Linked DNA regions of Homo sapiens: region 1 is linked to region 2. Evidence: promoter capture Hi-C in 16 types of primary human blood cells and fetal thymus (Javierre and others, 2016). All regions are on one chromosome and are shown on one strand. Each heading gives the region's core, a stretch centred on a gene start or on the middle of the fragment in contact. The rest is flanking DNA. Distances are from core to core; before and after follow the strand shown. Region 1 overlaps KPNA1 (karyopherin subunit alpha 1). Region 2 holds the start of PARP14 (poly(ADP-ribose) polymerase family member 14).

What was found. Contacts are between HindIII fragments. The CHiCAGO score rates a contact against its expected background, and 5 or more counts as called.
Region 1: a contact is called between a fragment that was not itself captured here and the fragment with the promoter of PARP14 in region 2, in 1 of 17 cell types (activated CD4 T cells). The highest score is 5.9, in activated CD4 T cells.

The regions. Positions count from the first base shown.
Region 1 is chr3:122,420,476-122,423,241 of GRCh38, reverse strand. KPNA1 (karyopherin subunit alpha 1) reads left to right here. Exons shown (of 14, transcript NM_002264.4): 14 at 1-1,340. All of the region lies in intron 1 of WDR5B-DT (WDR5B divergent transcript), which reads right to left. Among named protein-coding and RNA genes, the nearest start is that of WDR5B-DT, 5.7 kb to the right of the region's middle. The HindIII fragment of the contact is 1,992 bases long and covers 317-2,308 here.
Region 2 is chr3:122,679,506-122,682,205 of GRCh38, reverse strand. PARP14 (poly(ADP-ribose) polymerase family member 14) reads right to left here and starts at 1,367. Exons shown (of 17, transcript NM_017554.3): 1 at 1,136-1,367. The coding sequence starts at 1,322. RefSeq lists enhancers at 629-718, 1,260-1,659, 1,084-1,856, 2,260-2,379 and a silencer at 970-1,019. The HindIII fragment of the contact is 13,941 bases long and covers 1-2,700 here.

The sequences.
Region 1 (2,766 bases), core at 63-2,562, 260 kb after region 2:
TGGGAAATATTTTGGTCTATCTTTTCCTGTCATCAGAACTTAATTTAAAAAAATTATCAAAGGTCAGATGTGACTACTACAGTAAGTTGGCTATCATAAAGAATATTCCATAAAATGTTTTATCTGCCATACAAAATTACTGGGTTTATGGCCGGATGTGGTGGCTCATGCCTGTAATCCCAGCAGTTCAGGATTACAGGTTATATACAGGTTATAACAATGGATACCAGGACATCAGAATATCTGATAAAGCAAATATTTATATGCTAATTTAAAATATCAAATTGCTACTGGACATAAAATACATCTGGAAGCTTGGGGTAAGAAGAAAGAAAAGAAGTGTTCCGTTCTGTTTTCAACTAAGGGTAAACGAAGTCCCAGAGTGTTTTCCCTGTAGGTCAAATTAAGGTAACATGTCTTTATTTGATCATCTATTGTACACCAGATACCTGGCTAAGGGCTTTCCTTTTTTCTCATGTAGTCTTCCAAATGTTCTTTGATAATTGTCACTATATTATAGATGACAAAGTGAAGACTTACGAGAAATTACTTTGCCCCAAGGTTACAACACTTAGATGGCTGTCCAAGGGCGGGGAAGAGCCCTGCAAATTCTGTGTCTTGAAGAAAGCAGTGGCCACGCAGTAGTTCCGTGCCCAGGATCTCCCAGAACTAGACTTGGCAACCACAGCTGGGCCAGCCTTTTTTGTTAGACCATTCTTCCTGACTCCTGCTTACCATCAGCACCCTTAAAATGACGAAATCAGGCTTAAGTTGCTTTTAGGTTACACAGACTGGAGTGTAGGCCCTCTCAGGCCAAACATCTTTCCTCTTCTGTGGTGCTAAAATTCTGTATGACCAGACAAGTATGGTAATAGGTTTTTTTTTTTTTTTTTTTTGTGCAAATGATTTTGTGTTTAGTAAAATAATGGCTAAACACATGGATCCATTCAAACGCACAAATGTGGAAAGTATTGACACGGAAGGAAAGGCTTTGAAGAATTACTGCCTCAGGAAGCAGTGCCATGGATGCGAATTTAACACAGTCTACTTCTTCCTAAAGGAATATCATCCCAAGGAATGTCAAAAATTAAAATCACCTTTTAATGTACTGGTTGTTGAGTGTTTCTGCTTTACCTCAAGTCATTCTGACCACTCTACATCCTGCTTCAAAGTGTTCTGACACTTAGATTTGGAATGGCTCTAATGATTCTTTGTACTTGAATGTGGTCTGTCAGGCCATGGGTGAGTGCCTTGCACATAGTAGACATTCAATAAATACTAAATGAAGGAATATGCATGCATCTTTGTGATGTTAGTAAAGGGTGCTTGATAAAAGAAAATTCAAAGGAATTCCCTTATGCTGTTACTTGAAACCAGGATCAACATCTTAAGCAAATGTCTCAACGTGTTTTATATGCAGTTACTTTTCAGAAGACATGATTTGACCTGAAGTTTACAAAATCAAACATTGTCATAGCAGAGGTCTGGTATTTAAAAACAAACAAAGTGTCTTAGAAAAGCTAGTGGCCGGGTGCGGTGGCTCATGCCTGTAATCCCAGCACTTTGGGAGGCCGAGGCAGGTGGATCACGAGGTCAGGAGATCGAGACCATCCTGGCTAATATGGTGAAACCTCGTCTCTACTAAAAGTACAAAAAACTAGCCGGGTGTGGTGGCGGGCGCCTGTAGTCCCAGCTACTTGGGAGGCTGAGGCAGGAGAATGGTGTGAACCCAGGAGGCAGAGCTTGCAGTGGGTGGAGATTGCGCCACTGCACTCCAGCCTGGGTGACAGTGCAAGACTCCATCTCAAAAAAAAAAAAAAAAAAAAAAGCTGATGGGTATATTTTACAGTAAAGAAAAAAATTTATTAATATCCAACCGACGTGGAAGCTGCTGGTTGCCTTAGGCTATTACACAGGGATTTTTCCTTTTTACATATTGTATGTATTGCATAAGTGACAGATGAGTAGAAACAAAGATGATTTATTTCTTCACTCCATGACTGCTTCTCTTCTATTTTGTTGAAGAGATTCCACTGACCAAGTATTTTATTCTGAAAACAAAGAACATTTGAGGCAAAACATAGCCTTAGTTCCTGCAGACTACATTGTTTTATAAATCGTACAAAATTACTGGGTTTATGTCCAGACGTGGTGGCTCATGCCTGTAATCCCAGCACTTTGGGAAGCCAAGGCAGGCAAATCACTTGAGGTCAGGAGTTCGAGGCCAGCCTGGCAAACATGGCGACACCCTGTCTACTAAAAAAAAAAAAAAAAAAAAAAAAATTAGCCAGCCATCGTACCACAAGCTTGCAATCCCAGCTACTCAAGAAGTCGAGGCAGGAGAATCGCTTGAATCCGGGAGGTGGAGGTTGCAGTGAGCCAAGATTGCACCACTGCACTCCAACCTGGCTGACAGAGCAAGACTCCATCTCAAAAAAAAAAAAAAAAAAAAAAAAAAAAATCACTGGGTTTACAAGTTTATTAAAGATAGCTTGAATGATTGTTGCCCCATTTCACTTGCATTTTGAAGGAGTCATTGTTTTCTCTAATTTTAAATTAATATACAGTCATTTCTGTGTTTTTTTGCAGAAAGTAAAATTACTCATTCTTATTCATATCCACTTAACCTGCAGAAGGCCAATGTAGTCCGCTGGGAGTCCTCAATAAGGATCACTGCTTTACCCATCACTTGGGCTGGGCATTATTAAGATACAGTGATGGGTAAGGAGAAAACAGAAACGCAAAAGACCGTAATGGGTGGTGAGA
Region 2 (2,700 bases), core at 118-2,617:
TATCACACAGTTGCCCTTCTGAGCACTCCTTGGTAAAATTAATCCTAGGAAAACATGGTATTTTGTTTTCATAAGGGCCATGAGCCAAGCATATCTCCTGTCCCCCTCCTTCCTTCCTTCTGTGCGCCATTCTTTTTCTGTTTCATTTTTCCTTTTTGGATCCCTGCTTGGGCACTCTAATTGCATGGCCTCAGCCTCAGCCTCCTTGCCTCTCCTCTGGCCCGAATGCTTCTCCAAATCTAGCGACATGAAAGCGGAATTAGGGGTTGACTAGATCCCGATAGGTCATCATCCATAAGATGCCAGTGGAAAAGGTGCCCATTCTGGGAGCTGCAGGTCACTGGCTTCCCATTGCAGACCAGGGAGGCCCTTGAGCCAGCAGATCACCTCTGGGCTCTTGGCCCACCAAGTAGTGGTGGGTCTGTAAGGAGGGAACTTTGCCGACTTTCCCTCCAAAGCTCAAATCTCCCAACCCACAATCACTTCAGAATATCATCCTTGCTCCCAATCTGAGGGCCACTAGAGACTCGGAGAAGAGGCCCCGGCAGGCCCTCGACAATGGGCACCTGTGGTCGATCGACAGCCCCTCCAATGTGGCCGCTGTGACGGCTCTACGTTGACATTCAGGCAGTGTGATTTTAGGTAGCGCCTCTGCCCCTCTCCCAAGTGACCCCGGGACCCCTGGGAATCTCCAAGAACCACAAGGAATCTCTGTGACTTGCCACGTTTCTTAATCAGTTTCCTTCCCCACACAAGAATAATAACAACAGGAAAAGACAGAAAAGGATGATAAGAGGATAGACTCACTTCCACAACAACAACAACAAACAATAACACCACCACAACAGGGAAAGACAGAAAACGATCGAGGGATAAAGAGTTACTTGCGCGGTTCCGCCGCCACCTCCGGGCCGCGCCATTAAGCGCCTGGAAGCGCAGGGCGCCGGGGAACCGCAGCGCCCCGGGTGCGCTCGGAATCCATTCTGCCGCCCCCGCCCCCGCCCCCGCCCCGGCCACCTCCGCTACAGCAGCCGCCGAAGTCGGGCGGGTCACCCTCCCGTGCGTGCCCTGCCGCCATTTCCCTGGAGGGAGGGCAGAGGTGCCCCCTCCTCACCCCACCCCTCGCGCCCCTCACCGTCCTCCGGGTAGAAGAACACCAGGAAGCGGGATGGGCTCCTGGGATCCTGGCGGACCTCACACTCGCCGCCTCCCGACCTCTTCGGGCTCTGGAAGTACATCTGCAACTTGGTGTTCAAGTTCTTCGGGGGGTCGGGGCCCCAGGAGCCCTCGACCAGCAGCGGGAAGGAGCCGGGCACAGCCATCCTCAGCTCCGCTCTCCGCCGGACTGCAGGGGCCGCGCCAACTCCGGGCCGCTAACTTTGACTCTTTCGCTTTCGTTTCCTGGAAAACTCCCAGGCCTTGGTTTCCTTTTGCCTTCAGCCTAACACAGCGGACCCAGGAATGGCAGAGTCATCCCCCGCCCACCTCCCCACCTTCGCATTCGGCCCACAGCCAAGGCCAAAGTAACCCTTTGGGGCTGGCCAGCGGCGCCCCGGGAAGGCGGCCTCAGTTCACCTGTGCTCCACGGGCTCCCACACCCCCTCCTAACTCCGGGCCCCCTACCTGCCGCTCGCCCCAACCGCAGATCAAGTCGGCAGCTTTGGGGCACCAGACCTTGCCCAAACGCAAAGATCATTTAATTTTTGCCGCAAGCCGACCCTTTACAAAAGAATAAAATGACTCACAAACTGTGGCCCCTTTAGAATGTTTGCTGCCTATTTGGGGACTTTTTCAGCAATCATTGTGATTATCAGAATTTTACGTTGCTTTCCCTGTTTTGCTTTCTGTTCCTTGATCTGTTAATACTACATGTCTAGAAATGTGGGGGAAACAATTACACTCACAGTTTTTTTTGTGGAATATTTACTAGGCGCCATGCACTCACTCACTGAACCCTCGCTGAGCTCACGGAGCTATGGTGAACACAGTGGGCAATAGGTGCTCTGGGAAAGAATATACTTGTGTTCCTGGAACAGATGAGGAGTGGCTCCTAGTCCAGCTGTGGCGGCTCAGGGAGGGTTTATAGGGCGGTGACATGTAACCTGATAACCCCAGGATATCAGGGGATAGCCTTGGAGGGTTAGGAAGTGGGGTTCCACGGTGTGATTCACATGTACAGGATCACTCCGGCTGCTGCGTGGTGGCTAGAGTGGAGGCAGAGAGATCAGCCAAGTGGCTACCATAGTGTCCTAAGTGAGAGACAAGGGTGGCTGAGACTGGGGTGCTGGCAGAGAAGAACTGAGAAAACGAGGATTCTCAATTAATAGTGAAAGCAGGACTTGCTGAAGAATGTGAGCCTTGAGAGAAGGAGAAGCTCAAGGATGACTCCATGGTCAGCCATGGATGGCCCGTGCAAGTGGCTGGATAATAGTGGCATCTGCAAGAGGGGAGGCCGAGTGATGGGAGAGAAGCTGGGGCTGTGTGTTTCCTTGACCCCAAATAAAGCAGTGTTGCAAGTCGAGGGGGGCGGGGGGATTATCATTCCAGTGCTACCGATACCTCAGGTCAGAGAAGTGTCTGCTGGACTGCTGAGGAGCGGCAAGCATAGTCTCCTGGTGAGGAGGGAGGAGAGGGAGATGGCAGCTACTGAAGACTGAAAGGGAGGGAAGGAAGTGGAAGCAGAGAGCGTAACACGCTCTT